2 separate regions of the Homo sapiens genome follow, and region 2 is linked to region 1. The links are contacts of gene promoters, found by promoter capture Hi-C in blood cells and fetal thymus (Javierre and others, 2016). All regions are on one chromosome and are shown on one strand. The core of a region is centred on a gene start or on the middle of the fragment in contact, and the rest is flanking DNA. Distances in the headings are between cores, read along the strand shown. Region 1 holds the start of ABCC8 (ATP binding cassette subfamily C member 8). Region 2 has its middle 30 kb from the start of PIK3C2A.

Evidence for each region. Contacts are between HindIII fragments. The CHiCAGO score rates a contact against its expected background, and 5 or more counts as called.
Region 2: a fragment that was not itself captured here is called in contact with the fragment with the promoter of ABCC8 in region 1 in 1 of 17 cell types (M1 macrophages); the score reaches 5.9 in M1 macrophages.

The regions. Positions count from the first base shown.
Region 1 is chr11:17,472,995-17,479,638 of GRCh38, forward strand. It overlaps ABCC8 (ATP binding cassette subfamily C member 8), which reads right to left and starts at 3,851. Exons shown (of 39, transcript NM_000352.6): 1 at 3,635-3,851; 2 at 1,892-2,033. The coding sequence starts at 3,782. It overlaps LOC124902641 (a long non-coding RNA gene), which reads left to right and starts at 3,657. Exons shown (of 2, transcript XR_007062609.1): 1 at 3,657-3,737. RefSeq lists an enhancer at 2,507-3,063. The HindIII fragment of the contact is 8,626 bases long and covers 1-5,033 here.
Region 2 is chr11:17,234,164-17,240,807 of GRCh38, forward strand. No RefSeq gene overlaps it. Among named protein-coding and RNA genes, the nearest start is that of PIK3C2A, 30 kb to the left of the region's middle. The HindIII fragment of the contact is 4,219 bases long and covers 1,543-5,761 here.

The DNA.
Region 1 (6,644 bases), core at 2,601-5,100:
ACTCCTTGAAATAATTTTGAAACACCTTATACTTTCTCACACATTTTTAAGTTGGCAACTAAAATGTTTTATCGTATGTTTATAAATGCTTATGAGGCCCAGAAAGCCTGAATGACTTGTGCAAAGTCCCATAGCTGGTACACAGCAGCAGTGCTCACTGAAGACCCAGGTCTTCCTTCTCCAAGGGCGGAGGTGTCTTTCTCTGTCACCATCTGGTGAGTATTTCCCATCTGAGGGCTCACTGTGGCATTTGTGCTACTTTGGAAGGGGTGTAGGGGTGGGGGTGGAGGCGGACTTGTCACGTGCTTGTGTAGCAGTATGCCTTCTGGTCTTCTTGCTGGTCTAGGGACTTTAATAAGCAGGCAGAGCTGCTGCCTCCAAGTCAAGCAGGTATTTTAGAGATCACTGCTGAAGCCAGGATGCAGGGACATTGGGGAAGGGAAGGTGGGGAACGGGAGGGAGGATGAGGGAGCCTATCCCCTGCCATCCAACTACAGGAGCCAGGCAGCACTGCAGGAGTGCAGTCTGGGTATAATCTGATTCCAGCTCAGGGGGCGCTGGACCTCAGATACTCAAGCCAAATATCCCTCTCCTCCACCACTCCCTCTCCTGGCAGTCTCTCATCCTTGCTGGTTACTGGATTCTTCCTTAGTGAGATGGCTGCTCCCGCTCCTCTTCTGTCCCTGACTGCTGACACACCATTTCTGTCTGCAGTTATTGCTCACCTAGACTACTGCAGTCAATGCTAAGTCCTGCTTCTATTATACCTCTAGATTCTCCCTGCCTCCAGCCTGCGCTGAACACCTCAGGTTCCCACCTAAAAGTGTTATGCTGATGACATCTCTCTTCTGTTCCAAACTGCTGACCAAATCCGACCCAAACATGCAGGCTGGGATTCACAGTCCTCCTGAGATGCCCCAACCTGGGTTCCCAGCCTCAGCCTCCATCGCTCCCCAGCCTGTGTTTAATGCTCCAGCCCCTGCGCTGCTCCCTAGCCCTACCTGCTTTTCTCTTTGGTGCCTTTTCCCTTCCCTCAGGCACCACCAGTTCTCTCTCTCCTTCCTCCTCTGTGTGTCTGAAGCCTAGTCACCCTTCCAGACTCCGCTCCAAAGCCCTCTCAACCATGGAGCTTGCCCAATTCTGCCTTCCTCTCACCTCCCAGAGTACTTATTTGTAACATGGTTTCATTCATTCTCCTAAGGACCCAATAAATGTTTATGGACTGAATAATGTTTATGTTTATCACATGCCTTGCACTGTGAACACAAAGATGAACAAGACTCAGATTCTAACTCTTAGGCCTTTCTGACTCTGAAGACAGTTTTGCAAATAGACATAAACTTTAACATACAGTGTGATCTGTGCTGTAGCAGAGGTGTGAGGAGTGTGCTGTGAGGCCCAAACGGAAGGTGGGCATGGGGAATGAGGCCAGAGATAGGTGGGGCTGACTGTGAAGACCTTGAATGGTGGGCTGAGGATCTGAGACCACATCTTCAAAACAGCTGAGAACCAAGGAAAGGTCTTATGCAAGAGTGGGTGGCATGGTTAGATTTTTTTTTTTTTCCAAGAAGGTAACTCCGGCAGGTTGTAGAAGAGGCCAGACATTTTTCACTGGAGTTGTGGCATTCTAATAGGCTCTAGCATTATTTCACTGGGACTTGGCATGCAGGTCCGTGTTCCCTCTGCTCTCCTGGACTGATGGCAGGGCCTGGGACTCACTTGCGTCCAGTGCCCAGCTCAGAGAGGTTGGCACATAGAAGACACTGAGCTGCTGGATGTAGTAACAAAAGACATGGGCTTGTGGAATATAGGTGAGCTAGGATCTCCTTGGGCCTTTCAGGAAGTACCCTGGAGCAGATTCACTTTCCTGAGTCCTCAGACAGTCACTCACCCATCAGACAGGATGCCCTCTGCAATCTCACACACCAGGACGAAGAGCAGCATGAAGGTCAGGATCCACCGCAGGTTGTGCCCAGGGAAATGAAGCCATGTGCTGTGGTGGATGTGCACCTTGGAGCTCTGACTTCCCCATCCTGCAGGGAGAGACAGTCAGAGGCAGGATGCCTGCCCACTTGGAGGAGGAAGAGGGTGCATGAACCCCAGAAAGGTGCTTGGGCATTGGGTCCATGGTGAGGGTGACACCTACACATGAGGATCCCCAAGGCTGGTACACACAAACTAAACGTCCAACTCATTCAGCCTGGTCCTATGCTGGTACCTCCCCCACCACACCTTTTTACTGAGACAGGGTCTTGCTCTGTTGCCTCTGCTGGAGTGCAGTGCCACGATCACGGCTCACTACAGCCTTGATCTCCTAGGCTCAAGTGATCCTCCCGCCTCAGCCTCCTGAGTAGCTGGGACTACAGGCGCACATCACCATGCTCAGCTAATTTTTAATTTTTTGTAGAAAGGGCGGGGGGGGTCTCACTATGTTGCCCAGGCTGGTCTCGAACTCCTGGACTCAAGCAGTCTTCCTGTCACAGCCCACCAAAATGCTGAGATTACAGATGTAAGCCACTGTGCCCTGCCAAGGTACCCCATTATACATACTAACTTCTTGTGTGACAAGTCATCAGGTTAATAAACCGTTTGGCTGAGAACAGAAGTGTAAATGCTGTTCTTTTTTGATTTTTGATGCACATATGAGCACATATTTTGTATGTTTTATTTCTATTTCTATCTAACTGTCTTTGTTAATAACTAGCAACTCTGCTTCTGCAGCAACCTCTTGTAAATCTAATTTTGTGACAATCTTTCCTTTCTTCCCCAAAGCTGTATATGAATTTTAAGATTTGCTTGTTTTCTTAAAGTGAATGAACACGTTTTGGGGATGCAGGGGACACCCTATGAGTTGATAGACTTGACTGGTCTGGAAGAGTCAAGGTCTTGGAGAGAGATGGGGGGGACCTCAGTGGAGAGGCACGCACGATTGTCCCGGCCGTGGCGCCCAACTTTGCAAGCAAGGGCGCCGGGGTCGCTGCGTCGGCGAGTCGGAGCTACTTTGCGCAGAGCCTGAGAAGTTGCGCTCTGGAGACACATGCCCGGGTGGGGTGGCGGGGGAAGGGAATCCAAGTCCCTAGCTCTCGCCTCTCCTCGCCCAGGGCGCGGGCCTGGGACTGTCAGAGATCACGGACCACTGCGCGGCTCAGCCCGGTGAAAGCATAGGGGTTAGCTGGGCCTCCATCCCAGACTCCAAAGCACAGGCTTCCCTCTTCCCTAGGCCCAGCTGCGGCTGACAGGGAGGCTGCCTTGCGGGAGGGGTGACCCGGCTCCCTAAGCTGCGCCACGGAGGGTGAGGCCCGACCCCTCTCCAGTTTCCCACTGCGTGCTGAGACCTCCTCTTTCCCTTTTCCCCATCCCAGCTCTTGGCCCTGCAGAAGCAAAACTTGGTGATCCCATGGGTCACAAACGTCCGCTGTGTTTGGCGCGGGATCGGGGGCACCGGGGGAGTGAAGGGATGAGCTGGTGTGCGAGTGCGGGGACCGGCGGGCAGGACACAGGGCAGGGGACCCCGGGAACGAGGCGGACGGCGGTCGCGGGCCGGAAGGGGACGCCGAGCGGTGCGGCGCGCAGCGCCTCCTCCTCCCTCCCTGCTCTCCCGTCCCCTCCTCCGCGGCTCGCTGCGCGCACTCACCAATGAAGAGGATGGGGAAGGTGATGAAGAGTAGGAAGACGTGCGGCACCACGTTGAGCGCGTCCACAAAGCAGCCGTTGTTGAGGACCCCCTGGTCCACCCGGTAGGCGGCCGAGTGGTTCTCGCTGCCGCAGAAGGCCAGGGGCATGGCGGCGCGGGCGCGGGCTGGGCTCGGGCTCAGCTGGCTCCGCTGGCTCCGCGCGCCTGCCGCGCCTCTGTCCCTTGCAGCTCCGCCGCCCGGCCCGGCCGTCAGGCCCCCGCCCCCCGGGCCCCGCCCAGCCCCGCTGGCCTCCCCCTCCCTCACCCCGCCCTGCTCCACCACCTGCGGGGCCGGGGGGCGGCGAGGAACCCGACCGGCCCTGCTACGCTTGCGCCCACCTTCCAGATGTGGAGGCGCGTGCTCCCAGATGTTGCCGGGGTGGCTTCGTGAGTGCCCTGATGCACGCGTGCGCTGGGGGAGAGGGGAAAGGCAGGCTAAGATGGGGAGTGGGGTGTGGGCACACTGGAGTCTGGGTGGGAAAGGAGGGTGGGGCGTGCAGAAGAGGAGAGAAGGGCCCGCAAGGCCTGGAGTGGGCGGGTTCAGGGTCCCGAGTGTGAGTTCACCTGGGCGTGGTGCGGATGGATGTAGAGAGCCGAGGGATGGCGCAAGTCTCCACCCAACATGGATGAGAAAAGTGGGGCAGAACGTTACCTTGTGGTGGTGGTGGTGGTGGGGTGGGGCTTGGACATTTTCAAAAGTGGTCCCAGGTGGGGCACTCCTAGGTACTGCTTTACAGCGTATCTGGCACTTTCACACAAGGGATGTCCCAGAACTCTTGCTAAGTACAGGTTCTAATCGCTTCCAATTTTCTGATGGGGAAACCCAAGCTGCGAGGGAGCTGAAGGGAGGCCAGTAACATGACTTCCCCCAAGGTCTCAGTGCCAGCAAGCAGGGAAGCATAGCTTGAACCCAGCTCCTCAGGTCCCCCGTCCCCACCCCCATCATTTGTACTCATGCCTCTGGTACATGACAACCTTACAGCGACTGGCAGACCAATGGGTAGAATGGGTGACAGCCCCAGGCTGATAAAGAGGAGTTTAAGAAACGCATCTGGCCAGATGGATGTGAGGCAGTGGAGAGGGACTGAAATTCTTAACCTCACCTGGGACAGGCTTAACAGTTGGAGGACACCGTGCAATTGTAAAGACAACATTATGTCTTCCTATACGTTTTGGAGAGATTCTCACAAGACTGTGGCCCAAAGAAGTTTATATTGTATGTAGAAAGAACAGAAGATGGGATTTGGGGGTTAGATTTAAGGAGAACTTTCCTAGTTAGGGTATGAAGCATAAATGCACATGTTCTTAGGAACAGTCAGGGGAACACAAAAGAAAGACCCCTTCAGCCCCTTTGCCTACAAGCTTCACTGAGCCTGCCCTGAGGCTGCTGAGCCTGGTGAGCCTCTCCAGCACGCTGTCAGCAAGGCCGAGGCTCTGCCCAGGCCCTGAGGCAGAGGGCAGATGGGGTTGGGTGAAAAGCCTTGGGAAAGCAGGAGTTCAGGGTCTGAATGCCTCAGTCTCTGACTTTGGAGAATTTCTCAGAAGCCAAAAGATGTTTCTTGCAGCATCAGCCAAAATAGTGAAAACTTGGTGGCAAGAAATATCCAGCACCAGGGACAGGGGTTAATCAACCTTGAAAAATGCAACTGCTGGGACGGTGCTAGCTGAGTCTGTGTAGTCAATAGAAAAACTTTACAAGATAGTGTCAGGTGAAAAACGGCAAACAAAATTGTGCTTCCCATGATTATAGCCGTACGAAATATGTATACTTGCATGAAGCCTGCAGGGAAAGGTCAGACTTGGAAATTTGGTAAGGCGGTGCTCAGTATGTACTGGCTGCCGTCGCTGTGCTTATCCTCATTCCCTTTCTTTAAAAATGAGACAACTGAGGTTCAGAGAGATGAGATGACAGGTCCATGGTCACCCAGTAAGATTTTTTCTTTTAGTTTGTTTTTCTTGCTTTCAAGGTTTTTTTTTTTCATATTTTCTGCAATGTTGTTATTTTCTTTTGTAGTTACAATTTCAGTTTTTTCACACTTTCAGCAATGCTATCTTTCTTTTTAGCAGTAATAATATATTTACTTTTAAAGAACAGGGCTCCTAGTCCTGGCTCTACTACTACTAGTTGTGTGATTTGGGGGCAGGTTACCATTCTGCACTTCAGTTTCCTTATTTCTAAATGGAAAAGATAATAATATGGAACCCAGAAGATTAAGATGAGATCATGGGTATGAATGTGCTTTGCAAGTTGGGGAGATAGTCCAAGCTACTTCATCCCATGGGTGACTACACACGGCAGCCCCTTGATCAATCAGGGTTATTTAATGGTCTCTCCCTCACCCCACATTGCCTGGTGCAACCCTCACACTTGCCTATTCTGGGTCATTTGAAACAAACAAAAAGTCTGGTGTTAAGGGAGCATCAACTGGGACTAAGAGAGTGTTAAGTCTGGAGTCTTGGGGACTCGTGTTTGCCATCTCTAGCACAAACTTACTGTGTGACTGTGGACAAATTCCACCTTTCCCTGCACCTAGGTCTACACTGAGGACATGCACCACACTGCCCACCATGTGGGTGGGAGAATTACTTTGAAAAAGTGTGGAGTCAGGTGCGCACGGAGGCATGAAAGGACTTCCTTTGTAGTATATGGGTTGTATTCCTGGAATCAACCCAAATGCTCATCAGTATGGGGCTGGTTCAAACAGACAAAACCCAAACAGACAAAAAACAGATATTGTCTGTACTGTGGGATACTGTGGAGCAAGCGCAGAGAATAGAGTTATGCTTACTGGCAGGGGAAGATGTCCAAGACACAGACGCAGAGCGGTGTGTGGCATACAAAATCATTCATGTCTGTAACAGGGCTACGTCTGCCTCTGTCGGGGAGATGCTGGGTCTCTGGTGCTTCCCCACCTCTAGCCATGCCTTTTGTTTCTCTTGCTAGGGGCTGGAAGAAGGTCAGACTCTGAGA
Region 2 (6,644 bases), core at 2,402-4,901, 240 kb before region 1:
TCCCAAAGTGCTAGGATTACAGATGTGAGCCACTGCACCCAGCCTATGTCTCAATTTTTAATAACAATGTTATATTATTAAGTGTTTTTCTGGGGGTTTATAAATTATTCAGAAACATCCTTTTAAATGCCTGCATAATGGCCCATCTGGTTGAAATACCATAATTAATATATCTTCTATTATTGTACCTTTAGGTTTTTACCACTTTTACACTGTTACAAATAATGTTTTGGTAAATACTTTGTCATAAAACATTGTTTTTAATTTTTATTTTTTATTTTTTTTGAGACGGAGTCTCGCACTGTCACCCCAGCTGGTGTGCACTGGTGCAATCTCAGCTCGCTGCAACCTCCGCCTCCCAGGTTCAAGAGATTCCCCTGCCTCCACGCCCTGCCACCACGCCCAACTAATTTTTTGTATTTTTAGTACAGACTGGGTTTCACTGTGTTGGCCAGGCTGTTCTCGAACTCCTGACCTTGTGATCTGCCCACCTCGGCCTCCCAAGGTGCTGGGATTACAGGCGTGAGCCACTGCGCCCGGCCAACTCTTTTTTTTTTTTTTTTTTTTTTGAGACAGAGTAGTCTCACTCTGTCGCTCAGGCTGGAGTGCAGTGGCTTGATCTTGGCTCACTGCAACCTCTGCCTCCCAGGTTCAAGCGATTCTTGTGCCTCAACCTCCCGAGTAGCTGGGATTGCAGGCACCTGCCACCATGCCCAGCTAATTTTTGTATCTTTAGTAGAGATGGGGTTTCATCATGTTGACCAGGCTGGTCTTGAACTCCTGACCTTAAATTATCCACCCACCTTGGCCTCCCAAAGTGCTGGGATTACAGGCATGAGCCACTGCATCTGGCCGTCATAAAACTTTTTACATATTTGGGATTCTTTCCTTTATATAGAATTTTACAAAGTCAAAGGATATGAACATTTTTAAGGCTGAAATATAATGCTACTTCAAGGATGCATACTCAGAGACTGAAACTCTTAAACTCTTAAATGATCATGATATATTTTATACTCTTTAGAGGCTTCATTTGAATGCAGCCATCTTTGACGGGAAATGATTAAATTGCTACCCATCCAGATTTAATATGTATAGTTCATGACAGAAAGATAAACCTCTTAAGTGAACTGTCTCTGTTTCTCCAAGCTGTAAAATCTTAGAAGATGCCCAGGACAGAATGGCTCAGAAATGCTATAAGTAGGATCCAAAATATGCTTATTAGCCCTCTTATGTAAGAAGTGCTCTGTCCTCTGACATACCACAAAGAAAACAGCCTATGCTCTGGGCATGTCTTTATTCTCTCTCTCAATAGCACATTATCACACAGCACATTGTGGAACTTTCAATACCTATAGAACCTTGAGGATGTGCTAAGATGTTCTTGATCGAATCCTGATTCAGTCATTTCCTTGGATATTAAACCCTTCACCTCTCAGGCTGTATTGCTGGCTCTAACAAAGGGCTGGAATCCTCCTTGTGTAAAAAACTTTCCCTCTTGGTTGCCCTCAACAAAGTGAACAGTGGATCTCTTTAACAGTAAGCTTCTCGGCTGAGTATGGTGGCTCATGGCTAGATTCCCAGCATTTTGGGAGGCCGAGCCAGGAGGGTTACTTGAGCCCAGGAGTTCAACACCAACCTGGGCAACATAGCAAGACCCTGTCTCTACTATAAAAATAAATTAAAATAAAATTAGCTGGGCAAGGTGGTGTGCACCTGTAGTCCCAGCTACTCGGGAAGCTGAGACAAGAGGATTTCTTGAACCCAGGAGTTCAAGGCTTCAGTGAGCTATGATGGCACCACTCCTTTCCAGTCTGGGCAACCGGGCAAGACCCTATCTCAAAAATAAATAAATTAAAATTAAAATTAAAAAAAGAATTAACTTATGTGGCCAGGCACAGTGGCTCACGCCTGCTATCCTGGAACTTTGGGAGGCTGAGGCAGGCAGATTGCTTCAGCCCAGGAGTTCAAGGCTAGCCTGGGCAACATGGCAAAACCCCATCTGTACAAAAAATACAAAAAGTAGTCAGGCATAGTGGTGCATGCCTGTAGTCCCAGCTACTGAGGAGGCTGAGGTAGGAGGATTGCTTGAGCCTGGGCCCCAGAGGTTACAGTGAGCTGAGATCGTGCCACTGCACTCCAGCCTGGGAGACAGAGCCAGACCTTGTCTTAAAAAAAAAAAAATTTAAGAACAAAGGCAAAAACATTATCAAAACTCGTCACTTCTTAATTATTTTTGCTACATTTCACTGTGATCTATGTTTTGAGGTTACTTATATCTACTGCATCTGTATAGTAGAAATCCTAGGTAATGGTATGCAGTAACTGTACATCTCCCAATTCTGTACTCAGTGACATGGCAAGATTGGCAATGGTGGAAGTATTTACCCCTGCAAATGTTACAAATCAGAACTTTCCTCCCTCCTCCTCCAAGAGAGTCAGTTCTTAATCCTGAACTAGTACTCCATGCATTGTTGACACATTAGTTATAGAGCAGACCAAACAAGTTACTCAGTTGAAAAGTAAGAGCTTCAGTCAGCCTGACTCCAAATTTGTCTCTGCTAATTTAGAGAAAGCGCAGCCGGGCGCAGTGGCTCACACCTGTAATCTCAGCACTTTGGGAGGCCGAGGCGGGCAGATCACAAGGTCAGGAGATTGAGACCATCCTGGCTAACACGGTGAAACCCCGTCTCTACTAAAAATACAAAAAATTAGCCAGGCGTGGTGGCACATGCCTGTAGTCTCAGCTACTTAGGAGGCTGAGGCAGGATAATCGCTTGAACGCCAGAGGCGGAGGTTACAGTGAGCTGAGATCGCGCCATTGTACTCCAGCCTGGGACACAGAGCAAGACTCCATCTCTTACAGAAAAGAAAAAATAGAAAAATTTCAAACATATAGAAAAATAGGGAGAATAGTATAAGAATCTCTGTGTACCCCTCACCCAACTTGAGCTATGATCATGATCAGTATATTGTCTTGTTTCAACTGTATACCCACCCACTTTCCCCTATACTTGGATGACTTGAAGCAACTCCTGGCCATCATATCATTTTATTCAGTATTTATCTCTAAAAAATAAAAAGTCTTTTAAGAGTTGATTAACCCATTGGCCAGGCGCAGTGGCTCACGCCTGTAATCCCAACACTTTGGGAGGCCAAGGTGGGTGGATAACCTGAAGTCAAGAGTTTGAGACCAGCCCAGCCAACATGGTGAAGCCCTGTCTCTACTAAAAATACAAAAATTAGCCAGCTGTGATGGTGCCCACCTGTAATCCCAGCTACTCAGGAGGCTAAGGCAGGAGAATCACTTGAACCTGGGGGGCAGAGGTTTCACTGAGCTGAGATCTCACCACTGCACTCCAGCCTGGGCGACAGAGTAAGACTCCATCTCAAAAAAAAAAAAAAAAAAAAAAAAAACCCCAAAAAACAAACAAACAAAAAGTTGAGTAACCCATTGTAATAGGGAGATTAACTGAGACTCTGAAGTTAAGTAACATTCCCAAAGTGACCAAAACTGGTAAGTATATTAACCAAACTTCAAATACAAAACAATCTGTCTTCCTTTACATTCATTTACTGACTGATATAAAAATCCATGATCTGAAGATTAGGCAGCAAAACTGTAAATTCCAATAACAAATCTTAGCATTCTAAAATTTAATTTAATTAATTAATTTATTTTATTTATTTATTTATTTATTTTTTTTGAGATAGAGTCTTGCTTTGTCGCCCAGGCTGGAGTGCAGTGGCACGATCTTGGCTCACTGCAACCTCCGCCTCCTGGGTTCAAGCAGTTCTTTGGCCTCGGCCTCCTGAGTAGCTGGGATTACAGGCATGCACCACCACGCATGGCTAATTTTTGTATTTTTAGTAGAGACAGGGTTTCACTATGTTGGCCAGGCTGGTCTCAAACTCCTGACCTCAGGTGATCTGCCCGTCTCAGCCTCCCAAAGTGCTGGGACTACAAGAGTGAGCCATTGCGCCCAGCCACATTTTAAAATTTAAAAAGAAATCTGACTAGAATAAAAGCACAGTCATTCAACACTGAGCAGTAATAGGCCCACAGATTAAGTTCCTTTGGATTTATTTTTATTTTGGCTAAAAGGATTTATCTTGATCTTTGAAGGCATCAAGCATGAAGGGTGAAACCAGAGGACCAATTGTGCATGGTGAATAACTGAGCAAAATGGTTGTTCTCTCCAGCTTCCAGCACTAAAACAAATACCTTAACAGTTGCTTGTGGTGTCATACTTTCAAAAAGAAGTACTGTATTCCTAGCAGTGTGATTATTTAAAGGAAAAGCATGCAGATAGAAGCTGCACATGAGGAATTAAACTTAAATTGCCTAGCAACGTGACAGCTTTCAGCAAATGTTAATAATGACGAAGATGATAGTGATCATAATGATGAGGTTGACACATGACATATGAACCACGTGCAGGAGCAGGAAAACAAGTCAGTCACAAGTCTGTACATAATAGCTTGCAAAGCAGGTTTGGAGCTTGCCTGAGGAAAAGGCCAAAGAGGTGGTGTGTATAGTGCAGGACCTAAAACCACAGGCTTTGGAGCTGGCTTAAATTCTGACCTCCTACTACCAAATGTGTAACATTAAATAAGTTCCTTAATATCCCTGAGCCTCACTTTCCTCACTTGTAAAATGGGGATAATAGTATCTATTGCATAGTGTTGTTGTCTCACAACATAAATAAGATTAAATAAGATTATGGAGACCAGGCGAGGTGGCTCACGCCTGTAATCCCAGCACTTTGGGAGGCAGAGGTGGGCAGATCGCTTGAGGTCAGGAGTTCAAGACCAGCCTGGCCAACGTGACGAAACCCCATCTCTAACAAAAATACAAAAATTAGCCTGGCATGGTGGCATGTGCATGTAATCCCAGCTACTAGGGAGGCTGAGGCAGGAGAATCACTTGAACCTGGGAGGTGGAGGTTGCAGTGAGCTGAGATTGCGCCAATGCACTCCAGCTTGGGCAACAGAGCGAGACTCCACCTCACACACACAAAAAATAAATAAATAAAAATAAGATCAGGTGAGTGGTGTATGGTTATATCACATTGTTTGGGGGTTACCAGGATATGCACCCCAACCTGAGAAAATGAGAGACATAGGATTGCTTTTAAGAAGTGGATGAAGGAGACTAAAGGTTTCCCAGGTTGGTAATATGCTGACACTATGGATTGCATTAAGGTATCTAGAGAAATACAGTGTCATTGAGAAGGGGTAAACATGCCAGGTTTACTTGGTGACCTGAGGAGGATCTAGCCTCCTAGGTAAGTCAACAGAGAGAAATGAGGGCATGTATCTTTCAAATATGTCAATCCTATGACAGTGATGTCTCTCTGTTGATGACTGGATTAGCATTTGGCATTTGGCTCTTGTGTACTTTGGGCAGCCCAAGTCTATCATCTCTGAGGCTCTGGTCATGCTGGGGACTTTCAAAGGAAAGGACAGATCAAGCCAGACTTGCTTTACACACTGTTATGGGCAGAATTATATCCCCACTGACATATCATATTTTGAAGTCCTAACCCTCAGTACCTCAGAAAGTGACTGTATTTGGAGATAGGACCTTTAAAGAGATGACTAAGTTAAATGAGATGGTTAGGGGGCCCTAATTCAATCCGACTGATGTCCTCATAAGAAGAGGAGATTAGGACACACAGAGAGACACTAGGGATGCACACACAGAGAAAGGGCCATATGAGGAAACAGTAAGAAAGCAGTCATCTTAGCAAGGCGTGAAAGCTTACACCTGGAATCTCAGCACTTTGGGAGGCTGAGGCGGGTCGATCACTTGAGCCCAGGAGTTCAAGACCAGCCTGGGCAACATGGTGAAACCCTGTCTCTACAAAAAGTACAAAAAATTAGTTGGGCATGGTGGTGCATGTCTGTGGTCCCAGCTACCCCAGAAGCAGAGGTGGGAGGATCACTTGAGCCCAGGAAGTCGAGGCTGCAGTGAGCTGAGATTATGCCACTGCACTCCAGCCTGGGCGTGGAAGTGAGACTTTGTCTCAAAAAAAAAAAAAAAAAAAAAAAAAAGAAAAAGAAAGAAAGCAGCCATCTACAAAGCAAGGAGAGGGGCCTCAGAAGAAACCAAACCTGCTGACAACTTGATCTTGACTTCCAGTCTCCAGAACTTCAGGAAAATAAATTTCTGTTGTTTAAGCCACTCAAGTTGTGAAATTTTGTTATGGCAGCCCCACCAGACTAATATAGACAGTGCCAAGAAAAATCACCTGAAGGGTCTTATTACAATGTAGATTTGGATTCATTAGGTCTAGGAGGGAGCATGAGATGCCTTTTTTTTTTTTTTTTGAGAAAGAGTCTTTCTCTGTTGCCCAGGCTGGAGTGCAGTGGTGAGATCGTGGCTCACTGCAACCTCTGCCTCCCAGGTTCAAGCGATTCTCCTGCCTCAGCCTCCCGAGTAGCTGGGATTACAGGCATGGACTACCACAGCCAGCTAATTTTTGTATTTTTGGTAGAGACAGGGTTTCACTATGTTGCCCAGGCTGGTCTTGAACTCTTGACCTCAAGTGATCCACCCGCCTCAGCCTCCCAAAGTGCTGGGACTACAGGCAAGAGCCACTGCTCCCAGCCTGAGATGCCAAATTTCTAACAAGCTCTCA